Regions from separate parts of the Homo sapiens genome. Here region 2 is linked to region 1. Evidence: promoter capture Hi-C in 16 types of primary human blood cells and fetal thymus (Javierre and others, 2016). All regions are on one chromosome and are shown on one strand. The core of a region is centred on a gene start or on the middle of the fragment in contact, and the rest is flanking DNA. Distances in the headings are between cores, read along the strand shown. Region 1 holds the start of TSHR (thyroid stimulating hormone receptor). Region 2 has its middle 26 kb from the start of GTF2A1-AS1.

Region 1 (5,185 bases), core at 1,042-3,541:
AATCCCAGCACTTTGGGAGGCTGGGGCGGGCGGATCACGAGATCAGGAGTTCCAGACCAGCCTGGCCAACATGGTGAAACCCCGTCTCCACTAAAGACACAAAAAATTAACCGGGCGTGGTGGCGGGCGCCTGTAATCCCAGCTACTCTGGAGGCTGAGGCAGGAGAATCCCTTGAGCCCGGGAGGCGGAGGTTGCAGTGAGCCAAGATCGTGCCATTGCACTCCAGCCTGGGCGACAGGGCGAGACTCCGTCTCAAACAAACAAACAAAAAAAGGATAAATACATCATGATCAAGTGAGATTTATCCCTGCAATTCAAGGTGGGTTTAACATTCGAAAATCGATCACTATGATTCACCACATTAATAAACTACCATGGAACCATCACCACGAACAAGATTTAAAACAGTTTTATTACCCACAAAATTCTCTGGTGTTCATTTGTAGTCAGCCCTACCCTAGGCCTTTGCAACCGCTGATCTTTTTCCTGTCCCTATGGTTTTGCCTTTTTGAGAAAGCTATATAAATGAATCATTAATATGAATAATTACATATAAATACGTAATATTTTGAGTTTGGCTTTTTTCACTTAACATTATGCATTCAAGATTTGTTCCATAACAATACCATGGTAATTTTTAAAAAAACAACAACAAAAGCCCGGGTGCGGTGGCTCAAGCCTGTAATCCCAGCACTTTGGGAGGCCGAGGCGGGCGGATCACGAGGTCAGGAGATCGAGACCAGCCTGACTAACACAGTGAAACCCCGTCTCTACTAAAATTACGAAAAAATTAGCCGGGCGTGGTGGCGGGCGCCTGTAGTCCCAGCTACTCGGGAGGCTGAGGCAGCAGAATTGCTTGAACCTCGGAGGCAAAGGTTGCAGTGAGCCGAGATCGCGCCATTGCACTCCAGCCTGGGCGACGGAGCAAGACTCCGTTTCAAAAGAAAAAAAAAAAGAAAAGAAAATTTGTGCATGTTGTATCAGCAGTTCATTCATTTTTATTGCAGAATAGTATTCCAATGTGGAGGTATCAGAGTTTGTTTATCCATTATCTAGTCGCGAGACACTTGGTTCGTTTAGTGGTTATGAATAAAGCTTCTGTAAAATTTGGAATACACATATTTTAAATGTACGGTTTAATGAATTTTGATAAATGTATACATCCACTTAACCTCCAGCCTAATTACGATATGGAAACCCTGTGTGTTCCCTCCTGTCTTTTTCTAGTCAATCTTTCCTAACCTTTATTCTGATTCCCATAACCACAACTTTTTCCTTCCTGTCCTAGCCAAGTTCATATAAAAGGAATTATGCAGTATAGAAGGAATTGACATTCCTTTTATCCCAAGAGGAATAAGTGATTGAAGACTTTTAAGAAGGAAATAGGCACAATCTGATTTATGTTTGTAATGATCTTTTTGGCTACTGTGCGAAGAATGGTGAGTATGCCACTTAAGTATTATTTTTCTTCCCATCTTCCAGGGGGAATATGACTCAATGAAATTCTTGGGTCGACCAGAATTTCCATACTGGACCCATTATTAAGGGAACCTGGAATTATTTCTGCCATTCCCGATTCTTCCCAGCAGATGGCCCCAAAGTTCAGTTCCTGAATTGCCTCGCGGAGCCGCGGGCTGCAACGTGAGGCGGCCGCTGCCAGTCGACTCAACCACCGGAGTGGCCCCTGCAGTTGGATAGCAACGAGAATCCTCCAGGGGTGCAGGGCGACGGCTTCGGCCGCACCGCGGGCTAGCCAGGGCTGCGTGCCCGCCTCTGACCCTCAGCAGAGGTGTCTCTGGCCAGGAGGAGCTGAAGTTCTGCAGGACATTGGTCCGCCCGCGGACAGTCCACTCCGCGGGGACTTTCTCTGGATAAGGAGTGCGTGCGAGTGGCTCCCAGGCAGACAGGGTGTCTAGAAGGCTACACGCTAGGGAAGGTGGCTCCTTGGATTTAAAGAGGAGGAAAGGAGGGGGCATCTAAACTAGGCTTTGGAGAGAACTAATGGGAGGGGCGCCCGGGGTGGGGGGGCGGGCTGGAAAACAGAGGGGACAGCCAGGACTGGTGTTGGGTGTCAGGGAACAGACGGAGCGGACTGCGTGGGTCCAGCCAAGGAAAGTGAAGCAAGCAGACTTGTTTGGGTCAAGGTTGCCTAGGGAAGCGGAGCACTTAAGTGCCTCTTTTTCCCCTTCTCCAGCCTCCTCCACAGTGGTGAGGTCACAGCCCCTTGGAGCCCTCCCTCTTCCCACCCCTCCCGCTCCCGGGTCTCCTTTGGCCTGGGGTAACCCGAGGTGCAGAGCTGAGAATGAGGCGATTTCGGAGGATGGAGAAATAGCCCCGAGTCCCGTGGAAAATGAGGCCGGCGGACTTGCTGCAGCTGGTGCTGCTGCTCGACCTGCCCAGGGACCTGGGCGGAATGGGGTGTTCGTCTCCACCCTGCGAGTGCCATCAGGAGGAGGACTTCAGAGTCACCTGCAAGGATATTCAACGCATCCCCAGCTTACCGCCCAGTACGCAGACTCTGTGAGTACCCGGGAGAGATCAGGGTAGGACCCAGAGATCAAGGGCATCTGCAGAGGTGGCCCGAAGTGCACAAAAGCAGCTCAATAACAGCCCGAAGTAGTGTGTGAGTGTGTGTATGTGTGAGTGAATGTCTGTGTGTGTAGATGTGTGTGTGTGCTAAAAACTTAATCGCCCACACTTGGGAAGGTATCATTGTTGACATCCTCATTCCCAACACAGGAAAATGTTACAAAACTTTGGTGTACAATGACCGTGAGAGCTGTTCTTTCCAACAAGCTGCTATTCAGCACTTTGCCTAACCCTGGTTGAATCTGTTTTATTTGAATTAATAAGGATAATGGCATCTCAGGAACTGACCTTTTTGATCTTACCTTGGGTAATAAAAAATTGCAAAAATATGTATTTCTCCTTTTTGTTTCTCTAGATGGGAGGTTATCTTAGCAGTTCTGCTGATTCATCAAATTGTTGACAAAGGTTTAAGCAGGGGCCCTTTTTAAAATGAACTGTCTATACAGTATCTGTAAGTTACTTACTCAAATGTGAACTGCCAGTGAAATAGTACGTCCAGAACCCTGCTTTGTGATAGAGGTATAAAGAAATGAAATTTCATAAAAGTATAGTACATTTATCTGCATGTTAAATGTTACCAGATTAGAAACCTGATGTTAAATAAGATTATACACACACAACCTGTTTCTTAACAGCAATTTAAATCAGTGATCATTGAAATTGTAGACAAAACCAAGGGAATAAAGTCTGTCTTGATTAGTTAAAAAGAGAACAGAAAGAAAGGACAGTAAAACAACCTAGGCTGGTTAAATCCAGTTAAGATAAAAAAAAATGCAGGTTATTAAAGAAAATGTTGATAGATGAAAAGAAATGGGAAAGTTGCACCTCTAGATTTTCTCAAGAATTTAGCTCATGAAGACTATTTAACAGTAGATGAATATTTGAGCACAGAGATATATTTCTGTGCTCAGAGATATCCTAGTGTCTTAGCACACCTGAATTAATTAGTTCAATAACCTCCAAACAGTGTGGTAGTCATTCTCCATGCTGCCACCACAGAATAAGATGTGTAAAAGGTGTAATGGCCTCTTGATTACACCTCTACATAGGTTGCTTGTCACCTCTAGAATAAAATTCTTTTGTGCAGCCTACCAGATCTTTCAAGACCTAGTCAAGTCTTTCCAACCTCATTGCTCCTCATTTCTCTAACTTCCCCCTCCTGCTGAGAACTTCTGGCACTTCCCCAAAGGTCCCTGCTGTTACAGCTGCCCTTGCCTTTCTTCCCACTTTCTGGCCCCTCTGCCTGAAGCACATTTCACCCATTTCTTCACCCAGCTAATGCCTACTCCCAGATCCAGATCCTGGATCAACCCTGCAGGAAGCTTCTCCTGACCCATGACCTTCAGGCTGGGTAAGCTATACCCCCCTTCCCAACAGCGTTCTCTGCATGAACCTAACCCTAGCCCTTAGACATTGTCTACTTTCTTGTAACTTGTTATTTATTTGCATGCCCACTCAAGCAGGACACAAGCTTCTCTAACATAGGGAACTGCCATTCAACCCCGAATTCCTGAAACCCTGGAACTACTTAGACACTCAGAAAAAACAAAAAAAAAAAAACTTAAGTGAATAAATAAACAAATGAATATGCCAGGTCTCTGAATGTCCACTCTATGTTGGGGAGAAAGAAATCCAAAGACATCACTTCTTCAGAGACTTCTTTAACAGTGGCAGAAATTCAAGTCATTGAAGAGAGATGTGGCTCTGACAGTGAAAAGGAACTCGTAGACATCCTGTTTAAAATTCCACCAAAAGTTGAGAAAGAAAGGGTAATGGAGAATGAGCAATGGAACAGGAGTCAGGAAACCAGCATTCTCTTTAGCCCTTCTTTACTAACCATGAAATTGTGTAAGATGACTGATTTGGAAGGAGCCAAATTTCCTTCTGGGTAAAAGAGAATGTTCAACTAGGTGCTTTCTAGGTGATGACATGATGCTGATGAGAATAGTCTGAGGGAAGGCACTGAATCACAAGAAAAAGACATAAAGACAGTGGCAAGGAGGATCTGCCCTTGAGAATAATGGAGAGGGAGGTAGTATGTCCTGAAGAATAAAGTTATTCTGAGATCGAAAAGAGAAACCTGATAAAAAGTGTGGGTAAAACAAAATGGTAGTCTCCTTTGAACAATGGCTACTACCATCTGCAACAGTAGAAAAATGATTTTTAAATCTTTTGGGGGCGGTAGAACTCTTTGTTGAAGAAAAGCATATGAGAGAAGTAAAACATGTAAAGCTAACAATTATATTGTGTTTACTTACGGGGGCGGGGGGTCCTGTTCTCAGCGCTTTGCATGAACTCACCCAGTGAATCCTCACCAAATCCAATTAAGTAGGTGATGTTATTATGCTCATTTTATAGATGAGGACCTTGAGGCACAAAAATAAAATGAAGTAATTTGCTCAATGTTGCACAGCTTGTAAGTGGTAAAGTCAGGATTTGAATATCATATCATCAACTATGGAGCCTGCACCCTTAAGCCACCACTCTCAGATGAGAAGTGTGTCTCACCACACCAGTGTTCCCCTGATGGTCATAGGCTTTGGAGAAAAAAGTCTGAAAACAAGTCACATTCAGTAAACCGACTGATAACCTCGG
Region 2 (5,185 bases), core at 799-3,298, 290 kb after region 1:
AGCACATCTTGCACCGCCCTTAATCCATTTAACTCTTAGTGGACACAGCACATGTTTCAGAGAGCACGGGATTGGGGGTAAGGTTATAGATTAACAGCATCCCAAGGCAGAAGAATTTTTCTTAGTACAGAACAAAATGGAGTCTCCTATGTCTACTTCTTTCTACACAGACACAGTAACAATCTGATCTCTTTCTTTTCCCCACATTTCCCTCTTTTCTATTCGACAAAACTGCCATCGTCATCATGGCCCGTTCTCAATGAGCTGTTGGGTACACCTCCCAGACGGGGTGGCAGCCGGGCAGAGGGGCTCCTCACTTCCCAGACGGGGCGGCCAGGCAGAGGCGCCCCCCACCTCCCAGACGGGGTGGCGGCCGGGCAGGGGCTGCCCCCCACCTCCCGGACGGGGTGGCTGCCAGGCGGAGGGGCTCCTCACTTCCCAGACGGGGCGGCTGCCGGGCGGAGGGGCTCCTCACTTCTCAGACGGGGCGGCCGGTCAGAGATGCTCCTCACCTCCCAGACGGGGTGGCGGGGCAGAGGCGCTCCCCACATCCCAGACGATGGGCGGCTGGGCAGAGACGCTCCTCACTTCCTAGACGGGATGACGGCTGGGAAGAGGTGCTCCTCACTTCCCAGACCGGACAGCCGGGCAGAGGGGCTCCTCACATCCCAGATGATGGGCAGCCGGGCAGAGACGCTCCTCACTTCCTAGACAGGGTGGCGGCCGGGCAGAGGCTGCAATCTGGCACTTTGGGAGGCCAAGGCAGGCGGCTGGGAGGTGGAGGTTGCAGCGAGCTGAGATCACGACACTGCACTCCAGCCTGGGCAACATTGAGCACTGAGTGAGCGAGACTCCGTCTGCAATCCCGGCACCTCGGGAGGCCGAGGCTGGCAGATCACTCGCAGTCAGGAGCTGGAGACCAGCCAGGCCAACACGGCGAAACCCCGTCTCCACCAAAAAATAAAGAAACCAGTCAGGCGTGGCGGTGCGTGCCTGCAATCCCAGGCACTCTGCAGGCTGAGGCAGGAGAATCAGGCAGGGAGGTTGCAGTGAGCCGAGATGGCGGCAGCACAGTCCAGCCTCGTATGGGTATCAGAGGGAGACCGTGCCGAGAGGGAGAGGGAGGGGGAGGGGGAAGGGGAGGGGGAAGGGGAGGGGGAAGGGGAGGGGGAGGGAGAGACTGTTTGCTTCTTTTTATGATATCTATCTTTTTGTTGAATTTCTCATTCAAATAATAAACTGATTTTTGTGATTTCATTAGTCTATCTGTATTCTCTTGCATCTTACTGCGGTTCTTTAAGATTATTATTTTGAATTCTTTTTCTGTCATTTCATATTGTTTTATTAGAGTCTGTTACTAGAGAAGTATTGTTTTCCTTGAAAGTGACATGTTTCTTTCCCCTTTTCATGGTTGATGTGTTCATACATTGATTTCTACACATCTGGTGGAAAAGTTATGTTTTCCAGTTTTATGAAGAAGGCTTCATAGGGAAACACTTATTTGTACCAATAAACCTTTGGGTGTCAGTTCAGTGGGGTGCATTGACCTTGATTCTAGGTATGTACAGTAGTGTACTCTCCATTTAGTCTCTTCAGCTGTAATCCATACTAGTGGCATTTGTGTGTTTCTCAGTGGTCTAGGCTGAGAGAATTTGTGATAATGATGTGGCTTTGCTGGAGTTGGGCTTCCCAGACTGTTTCTCAGGCCTGGTGTGTGTGTGTGTATGCACACAGTGGGTCAGCCAACTTGGGGTTTGGCTCACTGTGGTTTAGGTCACAGGGTTGTTACTCTGGCTGGGGGCATGCACACATGGTTGCTCAGTTGGCCTTGGGGTGTGCCTGCCAGGAATGGTTTGTGGGACTTTTTTTTTTTTCTTTTCACATCTGCAACAGATTTATTTTTTAAAGGAATGGATTTTGAGAGAAAACAACGTGGGGCAAAAGTATGGAATAGAAAATAAATACAGATGTAGGCTATTGTGCTAATTGTTTTGTAACCACAACAAGCTAGTACAGAGAATGCCCTGTACAAAACACAACAAAGGTTCAAACATCGAGGAGTTCCCTTAGCAAGGTTGAAAATTTCAGTCTCTGGTATTTGGAATTTAGGCTGCAGTCCTTGTTTTTGGATGGACCACTGGGTGTGTGGCACAGTCCATGCTTTTAACCAGATTTGAACAGAAGAATGGCCACTTGGCCCAGGTAGAAGTAGATGAAGTGTTTGGTTTCATGTGTCACGTAACTACTGAAGTTCCTCCCCAGGATGCAGTGCCAGGTGGCATTGTACTTCTTGTCACATTCCTTCTTGATATGAGCCGCAGTGTTCTTCTCTATGTTGTATTTCTCCAGCGCCTGAGGAGCGCACTCCACTGAGTTCTGTTGCATCTCCTCCGACATGTCCGCATTTTTGATCACGGCCTTTCGGTCGCACATGGTTACCATGGAGAAAGGGGCTGGCCAACTCCAACGGTCCCCTGGGAGGTGCCAGCACAGCTCAGGCCCGGCTGGAGCTGCCGTTGCTACCAAAGCCGTGGCGCATCTCGGTTTGTGGGACTTTCTTCAACCCAGGATGTGGGCACACAGCTGCTTGGCTGGCCTGGTGATGTGTCTGCCAGGGGTGACCCACAACATGCTTTCTTTGGTTTAGGATGCAGGCATAAAGCTGCTTGGGTCTAGGGTGTGTCTGCTCTGGGTGATTCACAGAGTTTCTTAGGCCCAGGACACAGCTGCCCAGTTTCTCAGTTGGCCTGGGGCATGTTTGTTGGGGGTGGTCCCTGAGGTTTCTCAGGCTCAAGACGTGATCACATGGCTTCTTGGCTGGTGTGAGTGCACATCTGCTGAGGATGGTCCAGGGGGCTGTTCCTCTGGCTCAGGATGCTGGTACACAACTGTTTGATTGGCCTGCGGACATGTCTGCCATTGGCGGCCCATGGGGCTGCTTTTCACGCCCAGGATGTGGGCACAAGTCTGCTTGGCTGGCCCAGGGGCACGTCTGCTGGGGGTGGCCCGCAAGTTATTTCTCAGATCCAGTGCATGGGTGCATGACTGCTCTGCTGCCTGGGTTGGGCACAAGGCTATTTCTCAGACCTATGACATATCTGCATTGCTGCTCAAATGGCCTAGGGGCATTTCTGTGGGTGGTGGCCCATGAGATTATTTCGTAGGCCTGGGCAAGGAGCACAGGACTGCTTAGTCAGCTTGTGGTTGTGTCCACTACAGGCAGCCTGCAGGGCTGTTTTTCAATCTAGGACACGGACACACAGCCGGTCAGTTGTCCTGGGGGATGACTGTCAGGGGCAGCCCACAGGGCTGTTTCTCAGGTCTGGGATTCAAGTGCATGGCTGCTCAGCTGGCTCAGGGGCACGCCCACAAGGGGCAGCCTGCGGGACTGCTTTTTAAGTCCGGCATATGGGCTCTTGGCTGCTTGGCTGCCCTGGAGACGTGCCACCAGTAGTGACCTACAGGACTCTTTCTTAAGCTCTTATCGGAGACACAGGCCCACTGGGCAGGTCAGGAGCATGACTGTTGGGGGCAGGGGTGCTGCAGGGCTAGTTCTAGTGTAGCCACTCTGCTGGCCTGGGGCATCTCAGCTCCCATATGTGGGAGGACACACAGTGGTTTGGCTAGCTCATGGACAGTTTGCCCTGGGCGAGACCGGCAGACTCTTTCTCTAGCTGGATGTATGGTGGTGGGAATTGGTTTCTCTGCTTTGCAGGACCAGAGTTACAGCTGATCCTGGGCCCAAGCTCTGCACAGCTAGGGCTGTGGCATCCAGCTACCCTTGTGGGCTTGGCGTAATGAAAATGGAGCCCCAGTGCTGGGGTGGCTGCTGACCCTGGGAGGAGGGTGCACTCCACAGGTGGCTCTGCTGTCAAGATGGGGCTATTCTGCAGCAGCTTCGCTCACAGGGAGTGGGTGGGGGTGGGGAGTGCACACCTTACACTCCTAATCCAAGGCAGTGCAGCTGCATGAATTCCAGGCAGCTCTGCAAACGGGGCTCAGGGCTTGTGAGAACTGTGGGGTTCTCCTGTAGAAAGGACTATAGGTGTTTGTCAAGATAATGAAGGCTGGTGGGGATCTGCTTACCTTTTCTCCACAACAGGAAGTCCCTCCTGTCTTCAGGCCAATCCGATTTGGGAAAAGCAGATGGGGCTGTAGAGGCCGGGTGCCTCCATGCTGCTCTTCCGGACTTCTGTCACTGCAGATTCATCCCACTCCCCCACTGTACTCCAGTGCTCTCCCTTCGACACTCCAGTCAAAGTGAGCTGTTTATTCATTGCCTTGGGCCTTTCTTGTTGGGCGGGACAAGCAGCAGGTGTCTCTAGTCAGCCATCTTGCTGACATTACTCCTGGCTCCAATTCTTTTTTTTTTTTTTTTTTTTTGAGACGGAGTCTCGCCTTGTTGCCCAGGCTGGAGTGCAGTGGCGCAATCTCAGCTCACTGCAACTTCTGCCTCCCGGGTTCAAGTGATTCTCCTACCTCAGCCTCCCGAGTAGCTGGGATTACAGGTGTCTGCCACCATGCTCGGCTAATTTTTTGTATTTTTTTAGTAGAGATGGGGTTTCACCATGTTGGCCAGGCTGGTCTTGAACTCCTGACCTCAGGTGATCCACCTGCCTCGGCCTCCCAAAGTGCTGGGATTACAAGCGTGAGCCACCACACTCGGCCCTGGCTCCAATTCTTTACCCCTCCCAAAGTGCATACTCTTTCCTTGTGACTTCATAGTACACTAAATAGGTGGTGTATGTTTTCCTAACTCTTTAATCTGGGTCTGGCCATGTAACTTGATTTGGCCAATAGAATGTGGGAGAAGTGATAGTGCGCCTTTTTTTTTTTTGAGATGGAGTTTTGCTCTTTTTGCCCAGACTGGAGTGCAGTGGCACAATCTCAACTCATTGCAACCTCCGCCTCCCGGGTTCAAGCAATTCTCCCACCTAAGCCTCCCAAGTAGCTGGGATTCAGGCATGTGCCACCATGCCTGGCTAATTTTTTGTATTTTTAGTAGAGATGGGGTTTCACCATGTTGGTCAGCTGGTCTCAAACTCCAGTCCTCTGGTGATCCACCTGCCTCAGCCTCCCAAAGTGCTGAGATTACAGGTGTGAGCCACCACACCTGGCCAGATAGTGTGCCATTTTTAAGCCTAGGCCTCAAAAGCTTTATGTGTTTCCACTGTCATTCTTCCCC

What was found. The method cuts DNA at HindIII sites, captures the fragments that hold promoters and counts their contacts. A CHiCAGO score of 5 or more calls a contact.
Region 2: a contact is called between a fragment that was not itself captured here and the fragment with the promoter of TSHR in region 1, in 9 of 17 cell types (naive CD4 T cells, activated CD4 T cells, total CD4 T cells and 6 more). The highest score is 7.7, in naive CD4 T cells.

Annotation. Positions count from the first base shown.
Region 1 is chr14:80,953,330-80,958,514 of GRCh38, forward strand. It overlaps TSHR (thyroid stimulating hormone receptor), which reads left to right and starts at 2,292. Exons shown (of 10, transcript NM_000369.5): 1 at 2,292-2,521. The coding sequence starts at 2,352. It also overlaps a transcript of CEP128 not described here. The HindIII fragment of the contact is 2,816 bases long and covers 1,095-3,910 here.
Region 2 is chr14:81,244,131-81,249,315 of GRCh38, forward strand. It overlaps the pseudogene DYNLL1P1. Among named protein-coding and RNA genes, the nearest start is that of GTF2A1-AS1, 26 kb to the left of the region's middle. The HindIII fragment of the contact is 6,209 bases long and covers 1-5,153 here.